3 separate regions of the Homo sapiens genome follow, and regions 2 and 3 are each linked to region 1. Evidence: promoter capture Hi-C in human tissues and cell types (Jung and others, 2019). All regions are on one chromosome and are shown on one strand. Each heading gives the region's core, a stretch centred on a gene start or on the middle of the fragment in contact. The rest is flanking DNA. Distances are from core to core; before and after follow the strand shown.

Region 1 (2,700 bases), core at 32-2,531:
TATCCTTCTCCTACGTTTCCCTGCATCATTAATCATTCTGCGGTCCTCTTAGCTGTCTCAAATTATGACGGGCATTTTCCTGGTCTGTTTGTGGCTAGCCGTCAGAGTTTTCACTGGAAAAGCTATAGCTAATTGCTATACACAGTTCTTAATGTGGACCTTCTCCAGGGAGTTGAGAACCCAGGGTGTTTTGAAGAGTTGGAGCTGCAGACTTTTTATACTTTTGCCTGTTCTCAGTGATGAGTCAAAGCAAAGAAGGAGGGTGAATGCTGGATGAGGGGGCGGCCTCAGAGAGCCTGTGGCTGCATTAGGCTTTCCTGAGTGTAACCTATACTGGAAATTGTTTATCCACAAGTGAGTAGGTAGTGCATACTGAAGAGCTGACTACTGGGAGTGTAGTACCTATAGGACAATGAACAGAATGTTTAGAAAATTAGATCAAGTAAAAAAAAACTGTGAATTAAGACAGACTTGTTGGAAAATAATCCCCAATTCGGCTTTTAAAAATTAACTTCTTGAGAGGCCAAGATAGAGGATTGATTAAGCCCAGGAGTTTGAGACTAGGCTGGGCAACATAGTGAGACCTCATCTCTACAGAAAATTTCTTAAAAATTTGGCCAGGCATGGTGGCTCATTCCTCTAATCCCAGCACTTTGGGAGGCCGAGGCGGGTGGATCACGAGCTCAGGAGATCGAGACCATCCTGGCTAACACAGTGAAACCCCGTCTCTACTAAAAATACAAAAAAATTAGCCAGCGTGGTGGCGGGCGCCTGTAGTCCCAGCTACTCAGGAGACTGAGGCAGGAGAATGGCGTGAACCCGGGAGGTGGAGCTTGCAATGAACCGAGATCATGCCACTGCATTCCAGCCTGGGCGACAGAGCGAGACTCCATCTCAAAGAAAAAAAAATTAGTTGGGCATGGTGGTGCATGCCTGTAGTCCCAGCTACTGGGGAGGCTGAAGTAGAAGAGTTGTTTGAGCCCAGGAGGTCGAGGCTGCTGTGAGCCATGACCGCTCCACTGCTCTCTAGCCCGGGTAACAGAACAACTGTCTCAAGGAGTTTACCAGTTATACCTCAGAACCAGTCTTTAGGATGTTATCACCACCATAAAACAAAATGGGGGGTGGTGGGAAACAACAGGATGTTGAAAGTTCTTCCTACTACAAAGGTAGAAGAGTGAGAGCCAAGTTTACTCTTGAGTTTAATACATAATAAAGGGAATGAGATTCATGGTTAGATATTAACCATCATTACTGGCTCCCAGCTTATTTTTAGGAGTTTGTGAATAGGTGTTAGGAAGTTTGTATAGCTACTCTTAGTCATAGCCATTCTCTTTTGTTCAGTGGCTTTTAAATTCCTGAAAATTCCAGAAGTCTCCTCTTCTGGAAATTGAGGAGAGATTTAGTGCAAAATGATCAAAACCCCCAAATCCTAAGCCATTTTGTGTTTTTCTGCGCTTTCTGCTATGTATAGGATAGGCTAGGGCAGGGGGTTGGTGGTGTTGGTGGAGTTTGTGTGTTTTAGGATTTGGATTAAAGGCCTTATTGCCTTCACTATTGAAAAAAGAAGATTGGATTATCCAGAGAGAGACATTGTCCTGTAAGTAAAAATCTATCGGAAGTATTGCTTCCTAGGATACCGGCTTGACTGTAGCTGGGATCTTCCCTAATTAAAAGAAAGCTTATCCCCCCGCCCCCAGTATAATTTGTTCTGAAGTATGTTTTATGGAAATTATGGTTAATAGCTTAGTCACATTACTAACCTGGTTCAATGGGACTGAGGCTGTGTATGCAGATAGACTGGCTTGTGTTGGTTTTGCATACCCATGGCTGCACCTGTTACCTATAAGGATGACACCCTGTTTGGTTCAAATCAAAGAATGAGTTAATCCTGTGAAGTCTCTGGAAACTTGCAATTGTGGGCTTTTTTCCTTCCCTGAGGGTCTGGTAGAACTGACACGGACTCTCAGTTCTGTAATTGGACTGGGCGCTCATGTAGTTAGAAATAACCTATGTACTTGTTACAGCAGAAGAGTTGTAATGGAGTATAAAGAGCTGACCCTCGACTCCCCTTTTTTTCATTGATAGTTAAGATTGCCAGATTCCCAAAAGGTAGCATCAAGTGGAACAATTCAAGATAGTATCATTTGTTGTATACACATAAGTAAACATTTAAGGCAACAAAACAAAACAAAACACACTTATGGTAACCCATTCTGTTGAGGAGTCCAAAACTCGAATAAAGCGCCTCATTGCCTTTAACTGGTTCTGTGGCAGTGAGATCATCATCCTTATGCTGGCTCACCTAGTGTCTCTCTCTCTCTCCCGTTTTCTCTCTCCCTCTCTTATCCCCTTGACTCTCCCCACTTCTCATCTTCTCTTTAGATTATGTGGTAGCTATCCTCAAGAGCTCATAGTGCCTGCCTGGATCACTGACAAAGAACTGGAAAGTGTATCAAGTTTCAGGTCCTGGAAGCGCATCCCTGCCGTCATCTACAGGTAAGTTAAACTGGACCAGTCCCAGCTTGGGCTGGTGCTGCTGCCTGCTGCATATGGTCTGCTGCCTCTGCTGCTGCTAACCTGGGAAGGGTGGGGAGAGTTCAGAGAACTTTCTAGGCAAGGCTGTACTTCCTTATTGTTAAAGCTTCTCCTCCAGTAACACATCAGTACTGACTGCATTCAGAACACTAGCTGGTTGTT
Region 2 (2,700 bases), core at 137-2,636, 270 kb after region 1:
ACGGTTCTAACCTCGGGAGCTGACTCTCTGCAAGGTGGGACTGGCTCCCTGCAAGACCACTGGGCTAAAGACCGGCCACTGCCCTAGGACCTGCCTTGTCAGCTGCTCTGGCCATCCAGGTAGATGGGCCTGAGAGGGCTTCAGGGCAGGCAGCCCGGGAGCAGCTTGTGTCCTCAGCTCTGTCTAGAACCAGGAGAGGCTGCCTTTTCAACCAGAGGTGCAGCCTGGAACAGATGTGGAAGACCTTCCAGTCCATGTCCCCACTTTCCTGACAGGTAAACCAAGTCTCAGGAGAAGGTCCTACTCAGGTCACACAAGGCCAGGGCTCTCCCCTGACCTCTCTTGCCTCCCTCCTCTCTCCATAAGTGGCTCCTTCTGTCAGGCCCACCAGGGATGCTGTGAGCCTGTCAGAAGGTGTTGGGGGCGGGTACAGTTACCGCTCACCACCACCCCCAACGGGGCACCGGCAGCCACGTGGTCGGAAGGGGCCTATGGCGCAATGGCCCGGAAGGCAGTGACACCATCGTTCCCGTCCTAAGAACCATCCGGCCCTTTGGGGAAGACTGGCTGTTGGGGAGGGCCAAGGGGCCAGGCACCCAGGCTTAGCGACCCCACGGCACCCTCGCCGCCTCCCCAGGTATCTGCTGCCGGGCTCTGGCAGGGGCCTGTGCCTGTGGCAGCGCACGTGGGACTGGGGTTTCTGTGTGGCTGTGCATCTGGGTCTGTGTGCGGCGTGAGGGAGACCTGTTCCGTTCACCATGGGGACTCTGGTCTGCATGTGGGGGTTCCTGGGCTGGTGAGATCCAGGGCTGTAGATGACGTCATATGGCTGTGTGCGCATGTGGCCATGTGGGTGTGGCTGTGCATGCTGTGTGATTGTGTGGGCCCTGGGGCCCCCAGGCCTGGCTGACTTTCTATTCATCCCGGGCAAGCTGGAGGCCCCACAACCCCTCCACACCTCACACCACTTCCCTGCCCAGCTTCTGAGCCTCCCTCTCCTGCCCAGCCTCTTTGCCCATCCTATTCTCTCACCCCCTGGTTCCCAGAGTTGCCTCTACATCTTGACATCACCTCCCCCTGGAAGCCTTCCAGGGATGCCCCTTCTCTACCTGTGGAGATGCCAGGTTCTCAGTGGACCACTCTCTCTGCCTGACCTCCTGGCTCTCTCCCCTTCTCAGCATCCTTCTGCCTGGCGCCTGGCCTCCCCAGTTCCCGGAGGGCAGAGGGTGCCTCTGCTCCCCACCGGCACCCGTGGGCAGACCCAGCAGGCGGGTTCTGGCGGGGAGGAAGGAAGTACTTACTGAGCAGCGTCCTCTGTGTGAGCAGTACCCCCATGCTGGGTGCCCGTGCTCCGGCCCGCGCCCGCTGGGGGTGACACCTCTCGGCTGGGAGCCCTGCAGGCTGGCAGCCACTTTATGCCCGCTGGGGCGATTGGCCAACACCTCATGAGGTGGGTGGGGATGGGGAGGGGGGAGGGCAGGCCTTCTGGGAACATGACCCCAAAAACCAAAATTTCCACGGGCGGCCAATGGGCGCAGGGCGCGGTGTATGCCCGCTCCTCCTCCTGTTTTCTTCGAATTCGTTCTTCGAGGTCAGCCCTACGCCCAAGGATGATGTAAAACCGCAGCCTCAGCCTTCCTAGGGTGAGTGGGGAGGAAAAGGGTCCATGCCATCTTCAGGGAACTGGGCCAGGGATGGGCAGGAGGGACTTCGAGCTGGGCCTCTGGAGGCCCCAGGCCAGTCTTGGCCCAGGAGCCATTGGCCTCACAGGACACGGTGGTTGGGGGCTGAGGGGAGCGAGACATCTTCCTTCTTGAGTGCCCTTCCTGCCCTCTCGCCGGGGCTGTTGGGACATCTGTGAGCGGAAACCACCGGGCTCTGGGCACAGAGCCAGACGCAGGCTGGCAGCCCCGAGATTGTGGTTCAGGCCCCAGGACCAGCATCCCCCAGCCCGGCTCCCGACGGTCTCCTTTCCCCCATCGTGCACCCTCTGCCAGGCCCACTCCCCAAAGCCAGGCCTTGTCTTTGTAGGCAGGCTCCACTGGGGAGAACTGGACACTTGGAGCAAGAGAAACAGGAGGCCAGGGTTCAAGCCTGCTGAGGTGCTGTGTGACCTGAGGCAAGTCACTTAACCTCTCTGGGCCTCAGAGACCCACAACTATAAAATGAGGAGGAGAAAAGCCTTTCCCAGCCCACCTCACAGGGTTGCTGCCAGCATGGACATAAAAGGAAAAGACCTCTGAAGGAAAAAGCAAAGATGAAGGTCTGATTCCAAGTATTAGCTGTCGAGGGGGCGGGATGGGGGAAGGAGGAGATGGGGAAGCTGTGAGCTCAGAGGGGAAGCCGGGGAGGGGGAGTTGCCGCCTTGACAGTTGGGGACCAGGTTTCACTTTCTCTGAAAGATAGCGATCTTAGGTTGGTCCTCTGCGAAAGGGCCCTGGGAACAGCGCCTCCCTAGTCAAACTGCTACTTTACTGTGGGGTAAACTGAGGCCTGGGTGAAGGCAGACAGGGAGGCCAAGAGGCTGGCCCAGGCCTATAGACCCTGCCTGGTCAGCACATCTCCCAGGCCCAGAGGAGGGTCCTTGGCCTGCACCCTAAGAAGCCCGGGTGGGAGGAGGCCCTCAGGAGTCTGGGGAGTCAGGGTGGGACTCCTGGAGGCTGCCAGGGAGGCCTGAGCTGCTCCAGCTGGAGGGAGCAT
Region 3 (2,700 bases), core at 95-2,594, 330 kb after region 1:
TTTCCTAAGGGGACCGCCAGCCTGTACACATGATCTCTGAGGCCTGGGCTCGGGGGATTCTGTGGGGCAACATGGGGCCCAGCTTGGAGGCAAGGTGCTGTTCCACTGCCCCACATTTCTCTGTCTGCTAGCTGGGTGTCTGGGTGCTCTCGGGATAGGACATCGGGGGGTGCTAATATGAGCAGGGACCCTGCTGTCTCCCTGCCTGCCCCCGTCCCACGCCCAAGATCTGCCCTTGGGAGGAGGCGCATACATACACAGGACATACACAGAGCCCATCTACTGGCTCCTGTGGCTGCTGGAGCTGATGGTCTGTCCTAGTGGTGGGGCTCCCTGTCGCCCTGTACGTGCTGGGAAGGGGGAGTACCTGCCCACCTGTTGCCAGTGCCAGTGGAGGAAGCTGTGTATGAGCGGATAGGGGGCCCTTCTCCGACCCTTCCATGAGGAGAAGGGACTGTCTGTCCCAGGATGGAGCTGAGGGGAGGGAGGTGACCAATGTCTGTCCATCCAGAGGTCTGTATGCCTCGAGGAAAGGGTCAGTCTGTCCTGGGAAGGGGTGGGGGCGGGGCAGTCAGTCCTGAAGTCGGTCTGAGGTCTCCTGGTGTGGGGGCAGTGAGGCGGGGAGACAAGGGCGTCTGTGGGTTTGTGGGAGGGGGAAAGATGGAGAATGAGTGTCTATGGAGGGGGGCGCCAGCCATCTGGGAGCCTGTCGGGGTGGCAGAAACAATCATCCCTAAGGTCTTGGCGGCAGGGGTGGGTTTGGGGCAGTCTGTCATTCTGTTCCACGGCTGGAAGGAGGGCACAGTCGGTCCTTCCTGGGAGCGGGTCAGTCTGTCCGGAGGGTGGAGGTGGCGGGTGGAGGTGTGGGCCCGTCCGCCCCCTGGGTCGGAAGTAGGACTGCGAAGGGGGCGGGTCTAGGAAGGCAGGGGTGGTGGGGGTGGGGCAGGGGAGGGAACGGGGATTAGTGGTCCCTGCCTGGGAGGGGGACGTGTCGGCAAGTCCCGAGGGCGCCTCCGTCCGTGTCGAGGCCCCTCGCGTGGGTGGCGCGCTCAGTCCCGACCCCCGGCGCTACTCACGCGCCCTCGGCGCCCTGCGAGCCCACGATGAAGCCGAACTTGTCGATGCGGCGCTCGGCGAAGCCGTTGGCCTCCGAGTCAGACCCGAGAGAGCTGAGTTCGTCGGTGGTTGCGGCGTCGGGGCCCTGGGCCAGGCTCTCCCGGGTTCCCGACAGGCTTTCCCCGGCCGCGGGCGCGCGCGGCCCATTCTCTCCGTTGCTCTTCGCCATCCCAGCCGCGCCCGCCGCCTGAGCTCCAGCGGCCACCTCAGCCGCCCTGCTGCCGCCGACGCCCCGCCCACGCGCGGCGCCTATTGGCCGCCGCAAGGCCGGGGGGCGGGGCTCCAGGCCCACCCCGGAGCTCTCCCCCCACGCCCAATGGGCGCCGCGGACCCCGGGCCCCGCCCACCCTCCCCCGGCGGGCGCCAACAAGCCCGAAGTGAGGGGGCGGGGCAGCCGTCACCGCAGCCCTCCCCGCCCTCCTCCGGGCTGCCAATCACAAGAACTCACCTGGACGAGCTCGGGCCTTTCCGGGTTGGCTCCAAGCGGGGCCTGTCACCTACTGCAGAGCGCGAGCCGGAGGCCCAGGGCTTCCTCCATGGATTCCTCATCTGCCTCCTGAGCCCCGCTCCCTGCGAGACCCCAAGGACGTGGTAGGGATTGTTTGCCCCATTCATTTATGAGGAACTCTGAGGAGGCCCAAGTGAGTTCAGGGACGCAGAGCGGCTTAAAGGCCCAGCCTGAGCCAGAAGTCTGGCAGTCCCATTGCACTCACTGCTTCTGGGGCTTTAAATTACCTCGTGAGACCTAATTATTAATAATCACCAGCGTTTACTGAGCCACGCACGCCCGAAGCTCTACCTACTTTCTCCTGTAGTCTTTTCCCCAGCAGTTTTATGGAACATAAACATACCATAAATTCACGTTTAAAGTGTACAATGATTTTTAGCATATTTACAGAGTTGTGCAGCCATCACAACATTCTAATTTTAGAACATTTTCATCACCCCAAAAAGAAACTCCTACCAATTAGCAGTCACTCCGCATCCTGGCTCCCCCAGTCCCTGGCAACCACTAATCTGCTTCCTGTTTCTATAGATGTCCCTTTTCTGGATATTTCATATAAATGGAATTATACAATATATGGCCTTTTATGTCTGGATTCTTTCTCTTGAACATTTTCAAGTTTCATCCACATTGTAGCATGTATCAGTGCTTCTGGATTCACATCTGCCCCAGGTATGTCTGACTCCACCCCTCCCTTTCCTGGGATAGGCCCACACCGCCATGAAAGACCTATACTGCCCCTCCTGGGAGCTGGGACTATACCAGATTTTGTTTTTCCATTCATCAGTGATGGTCATTCGCGTGTTTCTAGTTTTTAGCCATTATGAATAATGCTGCTCTGACCATTCAGGTACAAGCTTTTGTGTGGGGGCCTTATGTTTACATTTCTCTTGGATAGATAAGGAAGAGTGGAATTGCTGGGTCATATGGCAACTGTTTAACCTTTCGAGGAACTGGCAAACTGTTTTCCAAATTGGTTGCAACATGTCTTGTAATCTCTTAGCAATGAGGTATACACCATTATTAGTCCCATTTTACAGTTAAGGAGACTGAGGTAAAGTCAGTTGCCTAAGGTCCCA

Evidence for each region. The method cuts DNA at HindIII sites, captures the fragments that hold promoters and counts their contacts. A contact is called where the count stands out against the background at its distance.
Region 2: the fragment with the promoter of OSM here is called in contact with a fragment that was not itself captured in region 1 in 1 of the 25 tissues and cell types used here (IMR-90 fibroblasts).
Region 3: the fragment with the promoter of TBC1D10A here is called in contact with a fragment that was not itself captured in region 1 in 1 of the 25 tissues and cell types used here (dorsolateral prefrontal cortex).

The regions. Positions count from the first base shown.
Region 1 is chr22:30,000,495-30,003,194 of GRCh38, forward strand. It overlaps MTMR3 (myotubularin related protein 3), which reads left to right. Exons shown (of 20, transcript NM_021090.4): 9 at 2,386-2,499. Among named protein-coding and RNA genes, the nearest start is that of MIR6818, 5.2 kb to the right of the region's middle. The HindIII fragment of the contact is 4,025 bases long and covers 1-2,700 here.
Region 2 is chr22:30,265,465-30,268,164 of GRCh38, forward strand. OSM (oncostatin M) reads right to left here and starts at 1,387. Exons shown (of 3, transcript NM_020530.6): 1 at 1,302-1,387. The coding sequence starts at 1,335. RefSeq lists enhancers at 551-630, 691-790. The HindIII fragment of the contact is 14,267 bases long and covers 1-2,700 here.
Region 3 is chr22:30,325,597-30,328,296 of GRCh38, forward strand. TBC1D10A (TBC1 domain family member 10A) reads right to left here and starts at 1,345. Exons shown (of 9, transcript NM_031937.3): 1 at 1,077-1,345. The coding sequence starts at 1,285. RefSeq lists an enhancer at 1-701 and silencers at 918-967, 1,268-1,597. The HindIII fragment of the contact is 10,227 bases long and covers 1-2,700 here.